2 separate regions of the Homo sapiens genome follow, and region 2 is linked to region 1. Evidence: promoter capture Hi-C in human tissues and cell types (Jung and others, 2019). All regions are on one chromosome and are shown on one strand. Each heading gives the region's core, a stretch centred on a gene start or on the middle of the fragment in contact. The rest is flanking DNA. Distances are from core to core; before and after follow the strand shown. Region 1 holds the start of CLRN1 (clarin 1). Region 2 overlaps MED12L (mediator complex subunit 12L).

Region 1 (5,188 bases), core at 980-3,479:
TGTTTTGCTAGTGGACCATGATAGCGATTATTCTAAATCCAGTGGTGAATTCATTGGAGGGCCAAATAAACTGAGATGAGTTGCTTATTCTGTGTTCTAGCAATTATTCTAAATCCAGTGGTGAATTCATTGGAAGGCCAAATAAACTGGGATGAGTTGCTTATTCTGTGTTAAGTTATACAAAATAAAAAAGACTTACTAATATTGTAAACTTTATTTTAAGTGCCTCTTTGGAATCTTCTATATGCCCAGTTCTTCTGTGGCCATGTTTTATATTGCCCCTCTTCTCCCCGAAGGTACATTGGCATTCTAGAATGAGTTCTATACTTAGTTGTCTGTCCTTAACGAGACTGGCTGTTGCGACTCCTAGGAGAGGCGAGCTGTGAGAGAAGTTTACCAGTACTCCGAGTCTATACCTCAAAGTTCCCTTCGAAGTGTGCATAATGTAGAGACTCATTTATGCTGAAAATGGTGTGAAATAAGTCTTCATTTATTAATTTCCTCTAAGCTGTCATGCTTAAAGGTGGATCAAAAGAATAGAAGCTAGCATACACATGTGCTTTTGGCCAACTGAAAAAGTTCTATTTACTGATGTCTGTGTTCTTCAAACACTCAATATGTGTAACTAATAATGGGCTAGTCTGCCCCTGTTACTCCTAGACGAACCCAACCCAAACTGAAATGTTTGCCATCTTTTCAAGGTCAGGGGCTTTGCTTGGAATAGAACATCAACCTCAGAAGTAGAAGACCTGGATTTGAATCCCAGCTCCACTACTCTCTTCAGCAAGTTGCTTAAACTCTCTGAGCCTCAATTCCCTTATATATAAGATACGAATAATTGCTTTTTCTTCTTCTTTCTTCTTTCTTATTCTTCTTCCTTCTTCCTTTCTCCTCCTCCTCCTCCTTCTTCTCCTCCTCCCTCCTCTTCTTCTTCCTCTTCTTCATTACTTTATATGCTAATTATGAGAATTACATATGATAATTTAGGTAGAATACTTCACAAGTTGCCAGACATAAGTTCTTACTAAACATTAACTTTGTAGGTCAGAGCTCAGGACAATAACATGGCATATAATAAACATTCACTAGACACTTCACACACACACACACACACACACACACACACACACACACACACACAGTCCTGTGTCTGTAGAAGGAGGAATCTCATTGGAAATGCAAAGTTAAAAAGCTGTTACTGAATTCTGAACTTTAGTTTCCAGGTCTTGACCGTTTAACCAGACCTACCTGCTGCTTAATCTTTGCTCATAACTGTCTCTAGTCTCCCAAACAGATTACCTTTGCTGAGACCTGTGCATTTTTATGATGAATCCATAGAGTCACCTATCTGACCACCATCCCTCTTTCCATCAATATGCCCTTATCTTTACAGATCCTGGTATTCCTTGGACCCAGAAACACATTCCCTTGCTATTATCCTAAAGCAGCTAAGCCTGTTAAAGGAAAGCATTTAGAAATCTAGATATCTGCTCCTGCATTTTCATATTTCTGTATGCCAAGAAAAATTTGAATCAAATTCTCTATTGATACATTAGGTATAAACCATGGATCTGGGAGAAATTAAGTTGGAAGGACAAGGACCCATGGTTGATCCAGAGCACTTAATATTCGTGTAGGACCAAATTCTGTTTAATATTTTTATCCTGCTGTAATTAAAAATTTTTGACATCAACTATCAATACAGGTACATATGTTCTCCCTACCTCTGCTAAAGCTCCTTCCCCCACCACCAAAAACAATAACAAACAAAAAACAAAAATAAAAACATCGATAAGTGAACTTCTCAAGTTGCTGAAAATGTACCATCAGATTCAAGCCTGTTTCTGAAAGTTTCAACTCACCCAATCAGACAAAAGGCTGAGGAAGGGAAACATTTATCAAGTTACACTGAGGACTCCATCTGTTATCTTCGACCTTTGTTACCAAGTGACACAGAGGAGATACTTGAAGGCAGTTTGAAAGACTTGTTTTACAGATTCTTAGTCCAAAGATTTCCAATTAGGGAGAAGAAGCAGCAGAAAAGGAGAAAAGCCAAGTATGAGTGATGATGAGGCCTTCATCTACTGACATTTAACCTGGCGAGAACCGTCGATGGTGAAGTTGCCTTTTCAGCTGGGAGCTGTCCGTTCAGCTTCCGTAATAAATGCAGTCAAAGAGGCAGTCCCTTCCCATTGCTCACAAAGGTCTTGTTTTTGAACCTCGCCCTCACAGAAGCCGTTTCTCATCATGCCAAGCCAACAGAAGAAAATCATTTTTTGCATGGCCGGAGTGTTCAGTTTTGCATGTGCCCTCGGAGTTGTGACAGCCTTGGGGACACCGTTGTGGATCAAAGCCACTGTCCTCTGCAAAACGGGAGCTCTGCTCGTCAATGCCTCAGGGCAGGAGCTGGACAAGTTTATGGGTGAAATGCAGTACGGGCTTTTCCACGGAGAGGGTGTGAGGCAGTGTGGGTTGGGAGCAAGGCCCTTTCGGTTCTCATGTAAGTAGCAATTGCATTTGAGTTATTTAATGCTTTAGGCAGACTCTTCCCAGTGTTGCGAGGAATTATATTTGAGAATTTTGCCGTGTTTACTGCAGGACTTTTTAAATCGGTGTGAACCATATGAAAAACCTATGACTCTGAGCAATTTCTTCTTCCTAGTTTTTATTATTTTATACTTGCTTTTTATTATAATATAGAGTTAATTCATTGTTACATAATTAAGGTTTTTGGAAATATTGGCAATTAAGATGCTTAAGTATTAATATTTATGTAAAAAATTATGGAGTCTTTTTAAAAAAGTAAACTTGGGGAAATAGGAAAGCTGTAAAGAATGATCTTTATGCTTTTTGTTCTTTATAAAAAGAACCAAGGTCATGGGCTCCGTATTTAACCAGGTTGCCACCTTTCTCATGATTTTGTTTCCTGCTCCCCACTCCCTCCCATTATTCCTGCTAAGACCTTTCCTGCTGCTAAATATTCAGTTTTCATTTTTAACTAATTTGGAATCATTTGGCTATAGAAATTTAAAATGATCTGCTGTGCTAACTGGGAAAGAAATGGATGCCTATTTAGTATAGAACATTTTAAACTGATTGACCTGCAAATCATGTAGAGAATATGAGAGAGATTTTCTTGTTGTGATTTTTGTGAAATGGAAGTGTAATCCACAGTATTTATAACCTGTTTATCTTAAGAAGAGAATTTTTAAAAATTACCATGTGAATAGGCAACTCATTAAATGAAAATTAATAGGAAGTCATTTGTTATATCTCTTACAACACACATTCAGAAGTTATTATTATTTCAGAAGGGCTGGTTTGGAACAACCTTATGAAGACACAGTCAGTAAATTACTGCATAAATCACTCTTCAGGAAAGGAGGTTACCAACTGAAGCATTTAAAATGAATTATTATTTTGCCCAGGTTTTTTTTTTCTTTCTAGTATAGGTAGAAGGCTAAATTAATTGAATTTATTATTAACATATGCAGTGCCTAATTAAATTTCAGTGCTGGTCTATTTATATTTCTGCAACATTCCTTATATCTTCTTAGCAGTCATTGGACACCAACCTTCAGCTCACATAGGTTACTAAGTGATATGAATTTTCATAGGGCTCCAGAAAATTTCCAAGAATTGGTTGTTAGCTTTTTAATTGATGAAGTGGATACCAGTTCTTTTCACTGAATGGCTTTTATTCATTAAGGTAATGGGGCTGTTAGAGTTGCTTAGTTTTCCTGGGGAAGGGGAAGGAAGAAAACAAAGCAGAATGTCATGTGATATGCAACTGTATTAAAAAACCGAAAAGGAAAAAAGTTGAGAGAGATGATTTAACCGTGAGTCACCGGCAGCCAAAGCGTGAGTAAAGCTTCTCACAGATGAATTTAGACAAAAGCGGAGAAGGTACTGGTGAATTTTCTGGAGCCTTTACATTTTCTACAGTGAAATGGAGATAAACTTTACTCATGCCATAGGACATGTTTCAAAACAATAATAAGATGTTTTCTGAACACTTACTACATACTAAGCACTTTATATGCTTTGTCTCATTTAATCCTTACACAGCCACATTCTTCTGGGGTTTAGCGAATGATTTTTGTGGTTGTGTCCTATGCTTGTCCTGTCTAAGGATGAAGTTGTTCTAATTGGGTGCCCCTCCTTTTGCTTTCTGTGAGGACTTGCAGAACTGGTGGGGTTTAAACAGTACCCTCACTTATCTCACAGAATTTCATTAGCTCCCAGATACCCCTGACATTCTCCCCCTAGCCTAGTGAAGAAAATCTTCCATTTACTTGTTCATTCTGCAGTGACAGCTCCATCAATATACAATAGACTATACATATTAAGTGTACTGTATATACTATACATGTTAAAAATCTCATTCATTTTGGTGAGGCCCAGCTAAGAATACTTACAGTAGAGCTTTTTTTTTTTTCCTAAGCATAAAAGTATCTTTTTCAATGCAGCATGAGACAGAGTTGGGAAAACCAAAATAAATAGATCCAATGGACTCCCCAAAGAGGATAATATTCATTTAAATAAACACCCCTCTCAGTGTTAAAACTTTCTAATCAACATGCCTTTGGGACACATTGCACCCTCAAAGTTTACACTCCCATTGCAACGCAGCTTTGTGGTTCACGTTTTTTCCATTCAGAATGTCATTACCCTGTCAATGATGTTTCATCAACGTTTGCTTGGATGAGAATCCTCTGATATTCTTCCTGATAGAAATGTATAAGCCCTGTTCATATAAATGAATAAAAGATCTAACCTTACTTTCTCAGTAGTGGCTTCCTTGGAGCAAAAAGCAGGGACCTCCAGAGAGCTCAGGTGGATGACTCTTTTCTGTTTCTTCCAGAGCTCAACTTACAATTAGTGCACAATTCATTTCCCAGAATGTCTTCTTTCTTATTGTGCCTTTAGAAAGTTATTAAGCAAACATTTGAATTCACAGAATCTTACCAGTGTAAGAGGAATGGAAAAGGTAACTTATCAAGGTAACAATCACTTCGTGGCCAGTTTTTTCGGCTCACTGCAACTACCCCTCCTGGGTTCAAGCGATTCTCCTGCCTCAGCCTCCCAAGTAGCTGGGACTACAGGCGTGCACCACCATGCCCAGCTAATTTTTTTTTTGTATTTTTAGTAAAGACAGGGTTTCACCATGTGGGCCAGGCTGGTCTCA
Region 2 (5,188 bases), core at 943-3,442, 140 kb before region 1:
CAAGCCTGTTAGAAAGGCAGAATCTCACTCCTCCCCCAGAGTCACAATCAGCCTCTTAACAAATTCCCACATGATTCATGGACACATTAGACTTTGAAGAAGCAGGGCCCTAGAAGGCAGAGAATTGCTTGAACCCGAGAGGTGGAGGTTGCAGAGAGGAGAGATCGTGCTGCTGCACTCCAGCCTGGGCAACAGAGCGAGACTCCATCTCAAAAAAAAAAAAAAAAGAAAAAGAAATTGTTAAATGTTTGCTCCTATTCCTAGCATTAGCACAACATAGTAACTACAAAATGCAAACTGATACAGGTGTGCTGTATTGCCATTTCAAATGATCAGGAAGAGCATAACATGAATTTTTTGAAACTGTGATACACTCTTGCTACAGTTTCAAACTAACAAAATAGTCTCCCAACATAGTAAGACGCAACAGTTATATTCCTCAGAAACTCAGTGTGTATTAAATGTATATTAAAATCATACAAAAAATACTTTGAGATCATACGTAAAACAGATTCCCATCTGAGATGGGAAAAAAACAGTTGAAGGTTTCAGTGACACATCTGAAAGTGCAGGGGACACAGGACAATTTTTCATGGAACCCACCCATCCGCGCACTGAAGACAGCCCCACCCACTCAATGGTAGCAGCCACAACCAACTAACTCCTCTTCCCCGCCCAGATTTCCACAGCACTTCCAGTGAGAGCCACAGACCCACCAGAGGGATAGCTTTTATCTTTTAGAGCCCTATTCTGAAAAGGAGGTTCACAGGCTCTGGGTTTAAGAAACACTGAGCTCCATACTGAAGTGTCAGTCAAAATCTTGCTCGTGCTGCAACACGACAACAATGGGGATGCTCTAATTCCAACTCACTAGGCCATCCTCTGGCTCGCAGTTGTGGTTCCAGGTGGATACACGCTGGCACCAGCTAAGACTGACTGATGGAGATGCAGACAAGAGTGGGGACAGCACTGTGGGTAAGAGCCCAGGGTCTGCAATCAGACAGCTCGAATTTAAACCCCCTACTCCATTTAAGAGGGACTCTAAGCAAGCTCTGGGACCATTGCTGTGCCTCCGTTTCCTCAATTGTAAAACGGGGATAGTAATAGTTTCTACCATGTTATCTCCATAACCCAGTTCAAAAAAAAATAAAGCCCAGAGAGAAACTAACTTGACCAAGGTCACACAGTAGTGAAGAATTCCAAAAAGTCTATGCTCCCAACCATCAAACCATATAAAAATGGCTGGCAATTAGCATTGCTGCTATTGTTCGTATCATATTTTTGGTTCCAGAAAGTGATAACCTGAAGCTCCAGTCAGAAGAGATACAAAAAACCTTCTTGGGAAAATAAAAAGACCCTTTCCTTAAAGCAGTGGCTCTCTAACTTTTACATCTATCAGAATCCTCTGAAGAACTTGCTAAAGCACAGCTGCTGGTCCCACCCACAGAGTTCCCACTTCAGTAGGTCAGGGGTGGTGCCTGAGAATCTGTATTTCTAACAACTTCCCAGGTGATGCTGATACAGAGACCATGCTAACATGAAGAGTTGAGGTTTCTGCCTCTCTAGAAAACCGGGGTTTCCATGCCCAGTGCCAGTACAGGTCTCACCACCAGGAAGAAAATGGATGTCCCATCTTGGCTCAACAGCAGCAGATCCCAAGAGGAAAAGTCCATTCAGAATTCTCTACCATACCCCCTTCCTTCTCTCACTGTAAGGGCACAAATGCAAAGCTACACACACACACACACAAACATACATACAGATCCAGGAAGGAACCAAGCGTATAAAGTTTTCACTTCACTCCTTTAACTTCCTATAGAACACTAGGGCCACAGAGCCAAAAAAGAAGCTGTCACTTCTGTGAGGTTTATTAGTACAAAACTTTAGGTCAGGGACCTAGAGAAACTAAGTGAAAGGAGGTAAAAATCCAGAGTATCACAACCAAAAAAATGCACCTTGATGGTCTATTTCCTGAAGTTTCTGAGAAGAGTTAACATCAATGACAAAAATCCAAAAGATAAGAATAAGATTCAAGTTCCAGAGTGTTAACTATTGTTGCTTAGACATTATTTCTCAAACTCCAGTAATGCACCAATAGACCCCTTTTAGAGGAAAACCACAGCCTCAGGGAGTCCTTAGACCCCAAGTTTGGGAAACTGGGCTGGACATGGACACTTAATGGTATTAGGCAGCATTAAGAGGTTCCAAACAAGAGGTAATGCGTGTCACCTGAACTCAAATAACAAACTTTTATGACACTGCTCTGAAGGCTTTTGTCAAGTCTAATCAGGCAAAAATAGAAAGAGGAGAGTCCAAATTTTGGAACAGCATGCCTCTAAAACCCCCAAGCCAGAATGTTTAAGGGACACAAATAGCTTCCTCTTGTACTAGCCCCAAACCTCTTCAAAGATGTCTTGAAATAATGGAGGGTAACAGCCACCAAAATTCTTACGACGCCTTTCCTTACAGAGATTTAAGCTTGTTCACTATATCTAGCCAACAGTTCTTATAATAGAACTTCCAGCAACTACTTTGCCCATCTGCAAAGGTGAGGCAACTAAGATCCCAAAAACGTGAGGCACACACAACAGTTAGTCAAGATCCTGTTCCCAGGGTCGTGCTCTGGGAACCAGATCAACAGCACTGAACCTTTTAAAAGGACTCTTACTAAAGGCTGCACATCTTCCTGTTGTACAACATGGAAAGTAAGAGAAAAAATAAAGCACTTTTAATAACTGTTGGGAAGCAGAAGAGACCATGAATCCAGACATACTTTTAAATATGTTTAACATTAACAGCATCTAGGGCAAAATAGTTGTACACACATGTCCAAGACCAAGTATTAACTAAGCCAAGAGACAATGCCAGCTGAGAATGTGAATTCACAGTCCTCACCAAGCGGCCCAGAGTAGCAGTGCACCAAACCATTGTGCACATGGATTTCAACAGATTTACAACAAAGTAATCCAAACATAGAGAAAGGAGAACTCTCACACCTCTTGTCATTGGTTTCGACTAAAATAACAAGCTTTAAAGCAATTCGAGGGAGACAGGCACACAGAGAGAAACAGAAACCAAAGTCCAGAAAATAGTCCATGCTAATATGTAAGGCCTGTGTTCACTCTGTATTTTTGTATTCTACACTGATAACAAAAATCAGACCTTCGGCCCAGTGCGGTGGCTCACGCACTTTGGGAGGCCGAGGCAGGCAGATCCCGAGAGGTCAGGAGATTGAGACCATCCTGGCTAACACGGTGAAACCCCGTCTCTACTTAAAATACAAAAAAATTGCCGGGCGTGGTGGCTGGTGGCTGCGTGTAGTCCCAGCTACTCGGGAGGCAGGAGAATCACTTGAACCCGGGAGGCAGAGGTTGCAGTGAGCCGAGATTGCGCCACTGCACTCCAGCCTGGGCGACAGAGCGAGACTCCATCTCAAAAAAAAAAAAAATTCAGACCTTCGATACTTCGGGTAACCTCCAACTGCATCCATAAATCTCATGCATTTACCTTGAACTTCACAGAATGATCTTATTTTTTGGATCACTTTCAAAGCAATCTTTTAATTTCAATGAAATGTTTCACTGGGAAAGTGAAAACATTTTGATGCTAGTTTGGGAATTTCTTAAGCTCTTTTGCACTCAAGAAAAAAATAAGCTCAGTTTAACACAATTTTCAATGGCCATCTCAAAGTCAGATAATGCACACAAATACATACTACAGACACTCACAACCTCCTGAGCGTCACCCTCTATCGCACAGAACATGCGCAGAAACTCCCAATTTTTTCCGTCCCCTAGTCACATCTAACAAACCAGTTCCATGACGATTCAATGAATTGGACAGAAATGTCCACCAGGGATGAGAAAGCCACAGAAGTAGAAAAATATCCCTCTATGCGCTAGTCAAGAAGGCTGAGTTAGCTCAAGTCTTACTCAGAACAAACAAAACACTTTTCATGGTTTTATAGCTATATTTCCTAGCCTTGTCCACCTCTCCCCCAAAAGAACATTCTCTCAGACCCCCAAGGATGTCTGTAAACCCCAGTTTGGGAAACTGGGCTATGATAATCCCCATCACAGATACATGTAATTGTTACTAGGCAACACCTACAGTTAGCAGATATAAAAGACCTGGAAGATAAGGGAAGAATCTTTTACTCCTCATAACTCATCATTAACCAAACCTATCCATACTTCTCTCAAAACATATCTCCCCTTTATTCCTTCCTTTAAAATACTACAACCCCCCTCCCACCCACCACCTGCCCCTCACCCCACCCCTACCAACTGAGGCAGCTGTTACAGCAGGATTCGGCTACTGCTCCGCACACATTTCACTCCTGTCCAGCATGCCTACTGGCCCTGGATGAATCTTCCTGAAACAGTTTTCTATTCTGCACTCTCCTATCCAAAAGCATCAGAAGGCTTTCTTCTCTTTTTCCCCTGAGAAGCGAAAAAGCAGCATCTAGCATAACTGTCTACAAACCCTCAATAACATCTCTGGTCTTCTCCCCACTTATCTCTGGCCCCAAATCAAAACACAGTCGCCCAGGACTGGCATTCAAAGCCTTAAACAATCAAGCCCAGCATTCCAGCCTTGCTTCCATTCTAAGTGTGCGAGTCACATGGATCTGCGTTTGAATGCATAGGCTTACCTACGATTGAGACTAAGATAACTGATCTCTGTATCTTGGTGGCTTTGTTTGAAAGGAGACAGGAATAACTCACAGGACTGAGGTTACATAAGATTAAATGTGCAGAGTTTAGCACAGTGCCTGGTCCATTATTAAATGCCCTATAAATGGTGGCTATTGTTATTATAGCTGTTTTCTATTTTTGTATTTTAACTTTCATTTAATCTATTTTATTATATGCCATCCCACATACGCTGTCTTTTCAACCTCTAAGCCTTACATCATGCCATTCCCACCCCCTGAAATACATTATTATGAAATATTTTATATTTTTCAAGCCACAACTCAAGGCCTGCTCCCCGTCCTTCATTCGATTAACAAATAATTATGCATACAGACTCTGCTAAGTCCAGGGGATTCCATAGTGAGCGAATTCCAAGTGTTATAAATACCCCAAACTGCCTGCTCAGAAAGCACATAACAGTGGCTTAAACTAGTCTGGGGAGTTAGACAAGAATGCTCTGAAAAGGTGGCCTTTGACCTGAGCTCTGACTG

The links. The method cuts DNA at HindIII sites, captures the fragments that hold promoters and counts their contacts. A contact is called where the count stands out against the background at its distance.
Region 2: a fragment that was not itself captured here is called in contact with the fragment with the promoter of CLRN1 in region 1 in 2 of the 25 tissues and cell types used here (hippocampus and small bowel).

The regions. Positions count from the first base shown.
Region 1 is chr3:150,969,768-150,974,955 of GRCh38, reverse strand. CLRN1 (clarin 1) reads left to right here and starts at 2,229. Exons shown (of 3, transcript NM_174878.3): 1 at 2,229-2,500. The coding sequence starts at 2,248. CLRN1-AS1 (CLRN1 antisense RNA 1) reads right to left here and starts at 2,278. Exons shown (of 6, transcript NR_024066.2): 1 at 1,863-2,278. The HindIII fragment of the contact is 11,205 bases long and covers 1-5,188 here.
Region 2 is chr3:151,107,322-151,112,509 of GRCh38, reverse strand. All of the region lies in intron 2 of MED12L (mediator complex subunit 12L), which reads right to left. Among named protein-coding and RNA genes, the nearest start is that of MED12L, 24 kb to the right of the region's middle. The HindIII fragment of the contact is 3,879 bases long and covers 253-4,131 here.